Linked DNA regions of Homo sapiens: regions 1 and 2 are each linked to region 3. The links are contacts of gene promoters, found by promoter capture Hi-C in blood cells and fetal thymus (Javierre and others, 2016). All regions are on one chromosome and are shown on one strand. Each heading gives the region's core, a stretch centred on a gene start or on the middle of the fragment in contact. The rest is flanking DNA. Distances are from core to core; before and after follow the strand shown. Region 1 holds the start of NDE1 (nudE neurodevelopment protein 1). Region 2 holds the start of CEP20 (centrosomal protein 20). Region 3 holds the start of PARN (poly(A)-specific ribonuclease).

Evidence for each region. The method cuts DNA at HindIII sites, captures the fragments that hold promoters and counts their contacts. A CHiCAGO score of 5 or more calls a contact.
Region 1: a contact is called between the fragment with the promoter of NDE1 here and the fragment with the promoter of PARN in region 3, in 6 of 17 cell types (activated CD4 T cells, naive CD4 T cells, fetal thymus and 3 more). The highest score is 10.1, in activated CD4 T cells.
Region 2: a contact is called between the fragment with the promoter of CEP20 here and the fragment with the promoter of PARN in region 3, in 5 of 17 cell types (neutrophils, naive CD8 T cells, non-activated CD4 T cells and 2 more). The highest score is 8.8, in neutrophils.

What each region holds. Positions count from the first base shown.
Region 1 is chr16:15,648,944-15,653,272 of GRCh38, reverse strand. It overlaps NDE1 (nudE neurodevelopment protein 1), which reads right to left and starts at 3,028. Exons shown (of 9, transcript NM_017668.3): 1 at 2,979-3,028. RefSeq lists enhancers at 2,326-2,825, 2,826-3,327. The HindIII fragment of the contact is 10,572 bases long and covers 309-4,329 here.
Region 2 is chr16:15,886,692-15,890,595 of GRCh38, reverse strand. It overlaps CEP20 (centrosomal protein 20), which reads left to right and starts at 1,993. Exons shown (of 5, transcript NM_144600.4): 1 at 1,993-2,038. The coding sequence starts at 2,011. The HindIII fragment of the contact is 7,894 bases long and covers 1-3,904 here.
Region 3 is chr16:14,628,798-14,632,952 of GRCh38, reverse strand. PARN (poly(A)-specific ribonuclease) reads left to right here and starts at 2,693. Exons shown (of 24, transcript NM_002582.4): 1 at 2,693-2,846; 2 at 3,279-3,356. The coding sequence starts at 2,828. BFAR (bifunctional apoptosis regulator) reads right to left here and starts at 2. Exons shown (of 8, transcript NM_016561.3): 1 at 1-2. RefSeq lists enhancers at 1-557, 2,157-2,679, 2,680-3,201, 3,202-3,725. The HindIII fragment of the contact is 4,468 bases long and covers 307-4,155 here.

The DNA.
Region 1 (4,329 bases), core at 1,779-4,278, 1.0 Mb before region 3:
TGCACACCATCATTCACGAATGTGGAAAACTGGAAACCTCAATGTCAACAGAGGACTGAATGGAAAACGATGCAGTTGTTAAGAACTGTAAGTACTAATATGGAAGAAAGCTCAGGATATGTTAAAAATGGGTGCCCATTTTTGTTTATTTCCCTCTCTCTGTACACAGAATAGAAAAGGGTCTGGAGGATGCACCAGAATGGGGGTAAAGCAAGCCCTGTGGATTTGTACCTGACACCTTGCTTTAAGGTAAACTACATACACATATATACAGTAAGCATAGATCGCTTTAGAGATTTTAAAAAGCTTAGGCCAGGCGCGGTGGCTCTCTCCCACCCCGGCACGTTGGGAGGCTGAGGCGGAAGGATCGCTTGAACCCAGGAGTTCGAGACCAGCCTGGGCAACATAGTGAGACCCCAATCTCTACAAAAAATTTTAAAAATTAGCCAAGCATGGTGGCATGTGCTTTTAGTCCCAGCTACTTGGGAGGCTCAGGCAAGAGGATTGCTTGAGCCTGAGAGGTCGAGACTGCAGTGAGCTGTGATTGCATCACTGTGTTCCAGCTTGGGCGACAGAGTGAGATCCCGTCTCAAAAAACAAACAAACAAAAACTTGGACAAAAAGTAAAATAGCTATTGTTCCAGGATAATTTTATTCTACTGAACCAAGTGACAGGGAAAGAATTTTTCCTACTGTGGTTTTGCCTCCTCCAACCCTTTTCAAACATTTCTTGAATACCTACTAAGTGCTGGGCACTGCTGAAGGAGGCAGACAAAAAGCACCCACATCCATTGCACGAGGTGCACGTGTAGTACTAACTGCAGGCACAAACTTTCTGTACACAGGAATGCTCATGTTAGGAAATTACCTTGTGAGGAAAAGGAGTGTCAATTCTCGGCTCACATTCTAAGGCAAAAGAACACACTTTGGGCTGCATGCAGTGGCTCATGCCTGCAAGTAATCTCAGCACTGTGGGAGGCCAAGGCAGGAGGACTGCTTGAGCCCAGGAATTTGAGACCAGCCTGGGCAACAAAGCAAGATTCTGCCTCTACATAAAAAATAATAATAATGATAGAGTCGGGTGCAGTGGCTCATGCCTGTAATCCCAACACTTTGGGAGGCTGAGGTGGGCAGATCACGAGGTCAGAAGTTTGAGACCAGCCTGGCCAATATGGTGAAACCCCATCTCTACTAAGAATTAGCCGGGCATGGTGGCACGCACCTGTAATCCCAGCTACTCAGGAGGGTGAGGCAGAAGAATCACTTGAACCCGGAGGACTGAGGTTGCAGTGAGTCGAGATCATGCCACTGCACTCCAGCCTGGACAAGAACAAGACTCCGTCTCAAAATAAATAAATAAATAAATAATAAATAACACACTTTGGAAACAAAAATAAGTCAAGTTAATAAACTGTTATCCAACATGGGATAAAATATATGAATCACAGGCCCCTGAGACTTCAGCGGCACAGATCATCTGCATTTAATCCTACACAAAACACACACTAAGAGGAAAGGCTCAAAATGGGTTGTAGGCCGGCACGGTGGCTCACGCCTGTAATCCCAGCACTTTGGGAGGCCGAGGGGGCAGATCACGAGGTCAGGAAATCGAGACCATCCTGGCTAACACGGTGAAACCCCATCTCTACTAAAAATACAAAAAATTAGCCAGGCGTGGTGGCACGCACCTGTAGTCCCAGCTACTCCGGAGGCTGAGGCAGGAGAATCGCTTGAACCCGGGAAGCGGAGGTTGCAGTGAGCCAAAATCGCACCACTGCACTCCAACCTGGGCGAGAGTGAGACTCTGTCTCAAAAACAAAAACAAAAAAAAAAAAAAAAAAACGGGTTGTATACCAACGAGGTGATGGAGGCTGGGGTGGTCGGGTAACAAGAGGCTTTAGGAGTAGCTGGGATCTAATTAATCTTCAAAACACCCGACCCATGTCCTAAAATGCCATCCTATGCTAGAATACACTATAACAAAACTAAAAATGATGAACCTGCCTAGGTCGTGCTGCAAAGGCCTTTTCTTTAGAAAGTTAAAAGGGGCCTGAGGCTCAAAGTAGAAATTAAGAGGCACAACCTGGTAGTAACCACGGACAAAGCAATCAAGGAAGCTCAGGCCCTCAGGAGGCAGAAAGCCTGAGATGGCTCGGAGAAGATAAAGTCGCCTCCCCAAAAGCGGTGTCAAGGTGACAGCGGGGTTTCCCAGGACCTCAGAGACTCAGGTCCTCAGTGAGCCCAGCCATCACTCAAGCTGCGGAATAAGCATTTTCGTCCTTTACCCAATCCCTCCCCAAAGTGCTGTCAGAAGAAACCTGAACCGTCCTGCGGCAGAGACGGGAGCAAAGCGGAGAGCAGACTGCCCCAAACGTGTTCCCGGAGGGAGGGAGCAGGGTGGGTTTTTGGAAAGAGGCCTGCAGGGGCGGGACAGTGGGTGTGAGGGCAGGGGCAACGCTGCAATCGAGGGGTCTGGGGTCGCAGAGAAGCGGGTGGCAGGATGGAGGAATAGGAGAGAGAGAGAAAAGAAACGAGGGTCATCTAGGAGAGGAGTATGGGGAGGAAGGAAGAGGAGAAAGAGGATGGAGCCTGGCAGCGGGGTTTGGGGACCGGCAAGGCTTAACCACCCAGGAAGTCCCGGAAGGAGAAGAGGGCAACGGGGTGGGAGAGAGACCAACGCAGAAAGAGAAACAAAGTTGCCAAGGGCGAGGGGCCAGCGCGAGGAACGCACCGGTGGCAAGGCACTCAGTGCCTAACTTTTTAGGACGGGAGGCTCCAGGGAGGCGGGATTTTGGAGCCCAGGGACCGGGGGAGTCCAGGCGGCCGGGAAGCGACGCGCAAGCGAGGGGCGTAGGGGTCCCTGCCAGGCGGTGGCCCGGGGTCCCGGGATCCTGGGGCGGGGCAGAGGAGCTTTTCAGCCGCGGTGGAGGTCCCCGGACAGCCACCCCGACCCCAGCCCCGCGCAGCGCCTCACTTACCCGAGCAGGGGCGGCGAGGCCAACGCGGCGGCGGCGGCAGAGGCGGCTGCGAAGGGCGGTGCGGCCCCGGCCCTCCGGACCCCGCCCCCGCCCCGGAGCCTGCGGTCGGCGCCTCCCATTGGCTGCTGCTCTACGGTACCGCGTCCGCCTCGGCCAATCAGCGCAGAGCAGCGTCGTTTGGAAACTTTTTTCCCAGGCCGGGCGCGGCGCGGCCAAGCGGCGAAGGCTCCTGGCCGGAGGGGGTTTGAGAGGCGCCGGCTGCCGGGCGCTGGGCTGCGGCGGGCTGGCGGGCATTGGAGATGCTGCAGAACGCTGCCTGGACACCCGGGAAACGGGTTTGGGCTTGCGGGCCGCGCATTTCAGGAAAATACGCCGGCCTCTCCTTCACTTCGATTGCATTTTCCCATTCTTGCACTTTCTCCAAATCAGAAGGAAAGACAAAGATTCAGGCCCACTGAAGCTAGCAGTGCCCCGTGCCCTTCCTACTCCTTTACACCAAAAGTAGAATCTTCAGCATCATTATCTTCTCCAGAAGCAGGAGAACGTAGTGCACCAGAATTTGGTCATAAACTTGGCTTTGAGTCCTAGTCCTGCCCCTTACTAACTGTGTGGTCTTGGGAAAGTTGTTTAGCCTCTATGACTCCGTTTCCCCATCTATAAAACGCCATTATGGGTCTGGCGCGGTGGTCACGCCTGTAATCCCAGCACTTTGGGAGGCCAAGGCGGGTGGATCACGAGGTCAGGAGTTCAAGACCAGCCTGGCACATGGTGAAACCCCGTCTCTACTAAAGATACAAAAAATTAGCCGGATGTGGTGGCACGCACCTGTAATCCCAGCTACTCAGGAGGCTGAGGCAGGAGAATCACGGGAAACCGGGAGGTGGCGGTTGCAGTGAGCCGAGATCACACCACTGCACTCTAGCCTAGGCGACAGGGCAAGACTCCGTCTTAAAGAACAGACAAACAAACAAACGACATTATGCAGAGGACTAAATGACTTAACAGCATTTGTAAAAACGTTTAGAACAGAAATTTGAACTTAGTAAGTACAATATATGTATTTGTTAAATGATCTTGATTTTGTTTATTTATTTATTTTGAGATGAAATCTCCCTCTGTCTCCCAGGCTGGAATGCAGTGGCGTGATCTCCACTCACTGCAACCTCTGCCTTCTGAGTTCAAGCAATTCTCCTGCTTCAGCCTCCCGAGTAGCTGGGATCACAGGCCCGCATCACCACACCCGGCTAATTTTTATATTTTTAGTAGAGACGGGGTTTCACCATGTTGGCCAGGCTGCTCTCGAATCCCTGTCCTCAGGTGATCCACCCACCTCGGCCTCCCAAAGTCCTGG
Region 2 (3,904 bases), core at 744-3,243, 1.3 Mb before region 3:
TTTTTCTTTTCTTTTTTTTTTTTTTTTTTTTTTTTTTTTGAGAAAGGGACTCACTCTGTCGCCCAGAGTGGAGTGCAGTGGTACAATCAGCCGTCCAGGCTCAAGTGATCCTCTCTCCTCAGCCTCTCGAGTAGCTGGCATGCACCATCATATCTGGCTAATTTTTTTTTTTTTTTGTAGAAATGCGTCTCATGTTGCCCAGCTTGGTCTAGAACTCCTGAGCTCAAGCAATCCTCTATCCTCGGCCTCTGGAGTAACTGGGACTACAGGCATGCACCACCATGCCCGGCTAATTTTTTGTATTTATTTTGGAGAGATGGGGTCTTGCATTGCCCAGGCTGATCTCAAACTCCCGAGCTTAAGCAATCCTCCCTCCTCGTCCTCCCAAAGTGCTGGGATTACAGGGATGAGCCACCGCACCTGGCCAATGTATCAGTTTTAAAAACAATAGGCATGGAACCAAAAGTATGCTGGAAGTTCCTCGGAAAGAGGTTTCCTTGCTCTTAGGTGGTTTTTTTTTTTTTTTTTTTTTGAGGCGGTGTCTCGCTCTGTCGTCCAGGTTGGAGTGCAGTAGCGCGATCTCATCTCACTGCAACCTCTGCCTCCCAGGTTCAAGCGATTCTTGTGCCTCAGCCTCCCAAGTAGCTGGGATTACAGGCTCCTGCTACCACGCCCGGCTAATTTTTGTACTTTTTTTTTAGTACAGAGGGGGTTTCACCAGGCTGGCCAGGCTGTTCTCGAACTCCTTACCTCAGTCTCCCAAAGTGCTGGGATTCCAGGCGTAAACCACCGTGCCCTGGCAGCTCTTAGGTGTACTTTTTTTTTTTTTTTTTTGAGACGGAGTCTCACTCTGTCGCCCAGGCTGGAGTGCAGTGGTGCCATCTCGGCTCACTGCAAGCTCCACCTCCCGGGTTCACGCCATTCTCCTGCCTCAGCCTCCCGAGTAGCTGGGAGTACAGGCGCCCGCCAGCACGCCCGGCTAATTTTTTGTATTTTTAGTAGAGACAGGGTTTCACCGTGTTAGCCAGGATGGTCTCGATCTCCTGACCTCGGGATCCGCCCGCCTCGGCCTCCCAAAGTGCTGGGATTACAGGCGTGAGCCACCGCGCCCGGCCACTCTTAGGTGTACGTCTAATCGATGTTTATTATTTAGCCAAGTGTTTGGATCTCACCGGCATTACAACTGGAATCATGCAACCTCACACTCAGTTTAGGGTACATTATTCCCCTGTTCCTTTTCCTTTACTTCCATGGGATGTTGGAGCTTATTCCTTCATTAGTTAGTTCCATAAAAAGCTCCTGGACTCCTTACATGCACTGTGTAAGTGCGAGTGGAAGAGGACAGGCTGGTGACCTTGGTTAAGTCTCTTCAGCGATGGAGGACTCTGTTTCCTTCATTGTAAAAACGGCGTGATCATAAGGAAATAATGCGCTAAGGCGTCACAGTAAGTGCTTAATACAGTGGTTCTCGAGGTGTGATCTCCAGACCGACCAGCAGTACCAGTACCACCTGGGAACTCGATAGAAATGCAAATCCTAGGGCCTCACCCCAGATTTACAGAATCAGAAACTCTATGGGGAGGACTAGCAAACAATCCGTTTAAACAAGTCTTGGAGGTGATGAGGATTCATGCTCAAGTTTGAGAACCGCAGGGTTAATAGGTGGTAACTACTAGCAGTTGGTACTTGAGGCTGCAGAGACAATGAAAAACTCAGCTGGCTAAAGTTAAGCACTAAGGTGCCAGCAGCACCCCACAGGGCTCTCCACTGCCTCAGTCCCCGCCCTCCCTGCCGTCTCACTCAACTGGGCCTTCCGAGAGCGCTCGCTGATTGGTGGAGTCTCTGGTCGACATTCACTACCCACTCAACCGCAGAGCTCATAAACTGAGAGGGGCGGAAGTGGGCGGGGCGAGAGCTGTGCGCCTATTGGCTACAGACCACGCCGCAGGGTGAGTGGGGCGGAGCTGCGCGTGCGCAGGGCCGCGGTGCGGCCCTGGCGGCCGTTGAAAAATGGCGACTGTGGCAGAGTTGAAGGCTGGTGAGTGCGAGCAGGGAGGCCTCCACATGGGAAGCGTCGGGCCTTCATCTTGTGGAAAGGATGGGATGGGAGGAGAGCGCGCGGAACACATGGGTTGGCTTTTACAGGCGTCATTCTTCGGTGTGAGGGCCTGCGGGGAGCGTCTGGCTGCTGTCTTGGCCCGTGCGCGGGGAGCTCTTATGGGGAAGAGGTTGCCCACTGGCGAGTTTTAAGCCAGTTTGGAGCTAAAGGAGGAGTTGCGTAATCTTCAGGCATCTAAGAGGCCTACAGGCCTGCATCTTGGGCCCCTGGCTCATCTTCTTGGACCCTGCCGGGGGCTGGAGGACTTGGACCAGGCTTGGCACTCAGGGCTGATGACTACAATTCCCACAACCCCTATTGGGTTAGGCACTGCCCTAAACAATTTGCTTGGTTGTCTCGTTGGGTCCTTACAACAACCTGTTAAGTAGCCCTCCCCTCCTTGCTTTTTTTTTTTTTTTTTAAAGAGAGGGTCTCTCTGTCGCCCAGGCTGGAGTGCAGTAGCGCGATCACAGCTCACTGCAGCTTCGAACTCCGGGACTCCAGCTATCCTCCCACCTCAGCTTCCAGAGCAGGTGGGAATACAGGGGCTCTTCACTACGCCCGGCTAATTTTTGTATTTTTTGTAGACACGGGGTCTTACTGTCGAACTCCTGGTCTCAAGCTATCCTCCTGCCTTGGCCCCCTCAAAGTGCTGGGATTACAGGTGTGAGCGCCTGGCCCCTTTTTCATCAGAAGAAACTAGAGGCAAAAAGTTTGCTGGCCTGGCCATTCTCCTGTCTTTTCAGGAAAAGATACTCTAAGCTAGTTATGTTTGAGTCATTAATGACATTTGTACGCTGTTTACTTTGAAGCAAATGTCCAGACAAGTAATAGTAATAATAGTTATCATTGAGCCTCATGTGTCAGGCACTACTCAACTCAGCCTGTGTGTTACCTGATTGTAACAACCCTATGCCCATTTCATAGACTGGGAAACGAGGTACTGAGAAGTGAAATAGCTCAAAGTGATTTCACTGGAAAGAGACACAGCATGGGAACCTAGTTGTGACGCACTGGAGCGCCAGGTCTTAATCACTGAGCAAGATTGCTGTCCAAAAAATAAAACCAGTTCCACTTTGCAGGGAACCCAGGGTTTAAACTAGTAATTCTTAGATATTTTAGGGAGGAGACGTGTATAAAAGTGTGTATTTGGGGACAGGGCTGGTGAACAATCATAAAACAGAACAGGCATGCATCTGTCCACAAGAACAGACTTCACGAGTCTACAGATGCTGTTCCCAGGGAAATACACATCACATGTAATATTGCATACATTTTCAGAGGATTTAAAGGTACACTTGGAATGGGCCAAGCACAGTGGCTCATGCCTGTAATCCTAACACTTTGGGAGGATCGCTTGAGCCCAGAAGTTTAAGACCAGCCTGGCCAACATGGTGAGACCCCATCTTTATTTAAAAAATAAAAATTAAAAAAAAGAGCCGGGCATAGTGGCCTGTGGTAGTTCCAGCTACCCCACAGGCTGAAACAGGAAGATAGCTTGAGCCCAGGAGATAGAGGTGACAATGAGCTACAGTGGTGCCACTGCACTCCAGCCTGGGCAACAAAATGAGACCTTGTCTCAAAAAAAAAAACAAATTAAAAAATAAAATAAAAAAGGTACTCTTGAAATATAAGCGAGGTTAAGACCTTTCCGAAGAAGTTTTGATGGCGCAGTGTTCTAAGCATAATAGAGGGAAAGGTAAAATGCTATGGACCTCCAAAAGAAACCCGGTGAAAACTTGTTTGCCAGCCAGTTACCTTACATTTTATGGGCATTTACCTTTTTTAAGCACGATCACGTTTTTC
Region 3 (4,155 bases), core at 1,444-3,943:
AGGGAGAGGCTTCGCTACCGGAAGTAACAAGACAGAGTGGGGGAAGCGTGCCCCGGCCCCGTGACCATAGAGGAGAGGCCGCTCTCCTTTCACAACCCCCCTCAACCCCGCGACCTCCCCGCTGCCTAGAGCGGCCACTCCCAGCCGGAGGAAGTGGGCGCATGCGTAATACCGCCGGTCCCGCCCCTTCCTCTTCACCCAGAGACCGAGTACCCGGGCTCGGCAGTCACAGCCCAAGGGGTGACGGGTGTGTGTCAGTTTCCGCTCCTCCTGGGCGGCTGTTCTTGTATCCGGAGGATACAAGCTTTGCCTAGAAATTAAAATATTACAAGGCCGCACCGTACTCTCTACAGTTATTTTTTGCCTTCACATTTTATGTAGAAAATCACAGGACTATACGTTCAATTTACGGTGTTAAGAATCGGAATTAAATGACTTTTATTTCTATTAAAATATTTTTTTTTTCGTAGAGATGGGGTCTCGCTGCGTTTTCCAGGCTGATCTTGAACATATGGCGTCAAGGGATCCTCCTGCCTCAGCCTTACAAAGTGCTGCGATTACAGGCGTGAGCCACCTCGTACAGCTTGAAATGGTTTTCTTATCACCACGTTTCGCCCCTTCCCAGCGTCTAGGTCACAGCGTCTAGAACTTATGCTGATTATTTGGTTTTGTTTTGTTGTTGTTGTTTGTTTTTGAGACAGAGTCTCACTCTCACCCGCCAGGCTGGCGTACAGTGGCACGATCTTGGCTCACTGCAACCTCCGCCTCCCGGGTTCAAGCGATTATCCCACCTCAGCCTCGTGAATAGTTGGGACTACGGGCGTGCACAACCACGCCTGGCTCATTTTAAAATTTCATTTTATTTTTATGGAGACAGGGTCTCGCTCTTTTCCCCAGGCTGGTCTGGAACTCCTGGGTTCAGGCGATTCTCCTGCCTCAGCCCCCGAAAACGCTGGGATTACAGGTGTGAGTCATGGCGCCAGGCCCCCATTAAACAGTTATTTATACAGATTTATTAATACGCTGCTTCCCAGTTCACATTCATTAGCACCACTGAGCCTCAATACAATCCCAGGAAATTGAGGTTTAGGAAGGTTTAATGCATTCCAGAACTAATAAGTGGCTGAGATAGATTTTGAAAATAGGTCTTCTAATCAACTTTCCTTTTGTTCGTTTGTTTGTTTTGGAGACGGAGTCTCGCTCTGTCGCCCAGGTTGGAGTGCAGTGGCACAATCTTGGCTCACTGCAACCTCCGCCTCCCGGGTTCAAGCAGTTCTCCTGCCTCAGCCTCCCGAGTAGCTGGGACTACAGGGGTGCGCCACCACGCCAGGCTAATTCTTTGTATTTTAGTAGAGATGGGGTTTCACCGTGTTGCCCAGGCTGGTCTCGAGCTCCTGGCCTCAAGCAATCCGCCTGCCTCGGCCTCCCAAAGTGCCAGGATCACAGGCGTGAGCCATCGCATCCGGCACTAACCAACTTTTCATAGTTGGCTTTTGTGAAAGACCAACCTGAATGTATTCATTCAACCCATGCTTATTGAGTGTCTACTACGTGTCAGCCCAGTGCTAGGCATTGGAGAACAGCAACCCCAAACCAACATACAATTCCATTAGGGCCGGGCCTCATATGTTGCACTCGACATAGTATTCCCAGAGGCTAATGCAGTAGCTAAGGGTCTCAGCTTTGCTTTCCGTGATCACCTAAGTAACAACCCCTATTATTCTTTTAATTTAATTTAATTTTTTTTTTGAAAACAAGTCTCGTTCTGTCACCCAGGCTGGAGTGCAGTGGCGTGATCTCGGTTCACAGCAACCTCCGCCTCCCAGGTTCAAGAGATTCTCCTGCCTCAGCTTCCCGAATAGCTGGGATTACAGGCGCGCACCACTGCACCCGGCTAATTTTTTGTATTTTTAATAGAGACAGGGTTTCACCATGTTGGCCAGGCTGCTCTTGAACTTCTGACCTCAGGTAATCCGCCCGCTTCTGCCTCCCAAATCGCTAGGATTACAGGCATGAGTCACCAAGCCCAGCCAATTTTTATATTTTTAGTAGAGACAGGGTTTCACTATGTTGGCCAGGCTGGTCTCGAACTCCTGATCTCGTGATCCGCCCGCCTCGGCCTTCCAAAGTGCTGGGATTACAGGCATAAGCCACCGGGTCCGGCCTAATTTTATTTTTTTAAGAGACAGGTCTCACTATGCTGTCCAGGCTGGTCTCGAACTCTTCAGTTCAACGGATCCTCCCGCCTCGGGTTCCCAAAGTGTTAGGCTTACAGGCGTGAGCCACCGCACCCGGATCCCATTATTCTCTATTACATCGCCCCGCTCTTTTTCTTAATAGCGATTTTCATGTGTTACCAAATGGCAAGTTTCACTCCTGCCTGAATTTCCCCTTACCCCAAGTTTAAGCTACAATGGGGCAGGGAGCACGTCTTCCTGTTCATCACTGTATCTCCACCCCTGTAAGAGTGGCTAGCATATCACAGAAACCCAGTCAGTATTTCCTGGTCGACTGGATGTCGAGACATGCACATTTTTTCTACTGAAGTGAAAGCCCGCACAAATTAGGCCACGCCTTGGGGACTTCGATAGCCACGCCCCTCCCCTGTCCCTATAAGGAGGGAAAGGAGCCCAGCCTTGGCCCCGCCCCCGCCGCCGCGCAGGCGCTGACGCAAGCGCAGCAGGCGCGCGCTGTTTCCGGAAGTCGCGGCCGGCGTCACCGCTGCGGCTGCCTCAGCTACTGCCGCAGTCGCCGCGGAATTCGGCGAGTAGAACCGCTGAGGCGGGCGCGGGCCCGGGTGGGGCCAAGGTTCCGGCCACTCTGCAGAATGGAGATAATCAGGAGCAGTGCGTGTCCGCCGTACACCTCCCCGCCTCCCCACACCCGGCTGCCCCTGGCCTGCTAGGCCGAGACCATGGCCGGCGTGTTTGGCTGGGCCTGGGGCTGAGGCAGCCCCTCAGGGCTTTTCCCTCCTTAAGCCGGTGCGCCTCTTGGGGTCTTTTCCGGCTGCGGACCGTGCACCCTAGGAGCCTTGTACTTACTCCTCCAACCCCGGCACCATCCGGGGCCTTGTCCTTCTCCGGGCCGGGCACCCCCCGGGGCTTGTCCCCCCTGACCCATGCACCCCTCGAGGACTTGATTCCCCTCGCCCCGGTGCACACCTCCGGGACTTTTCCCCTTCCGGCTCTCAGCCTCGGGAGCTCCTCGGCCCTCCTTCCCTCTCCCCTTAGCAGGAATTCAGGCCACTGGTTCTGAGCCTCTTTTCGGTTTCTCCGCAGATTTTAAGAGTAATCTTCACAAAGTGTACCAGGCCATAGAGGAGGCCGACTTCTTCGCCATCGATGGGGAGTTTTCAGGTATCCCTCCCTTGCAAGCTCAGGCTAGCACTTTGCAGTGCATAGCCAAGGCTCCTTCAATCCCCCAGCCCCCAACTTCTTATGCTTGGTGGTGGCCTCTTGCTGTTAGTAGCCTTGGGCGGGTTTCACAGGTCTCAGTGTTACCCTTTAAACGTTTCAAAAGCACGAAAGAAATGAAGATACGCCGTAGGTTTGTGATTGGACTCAGGATCTCAGATAGAGATGATGGTTTTGATGCTGCTTAAAACAGTGCGGCGTGTACATTGCAGAGAGCTTGAGGATTAGGGTCAGACTGTTTTTTTTCTTGATTGTAAAATAGGTATAACATGAAATTTGCCATTTTAAGTGGCTTTACAGTTAAGTGGCATTAAGTACATTCACATTGCTGTGCAAACATCACCATCCATCTCTAGGACTTCTTCATCTTCACAGTCTGAAACTCTTTACACATTAAACTCCCCATTTCTCCTTTCGCCCAGCCTTTAGCAACCGCCATTTGTCTCTGAATTTGACTGCCCTTAACATCTCATATAAGTGGAATCTTACAATATTTGCCCTTTTGTGACCGGCTAGGGTCAGGTTTTTGCAGATAAATGAGATATTTCTTTATGCATTAGTGGACGTGTTCATTGCCTGCCTCAACAGGTGTGTATACAGGAAATACTTCACTGACACTTAAAGTTGCAAATTTTTTTTCCCCTTTTTTAGGGGGAGCAAAGACTAGTTTTTAAATTGCTGATGTCAATATGAACGGTTCACTCCCTTTGATATGGATATCCATTTTTGCTGTCTGATTTTC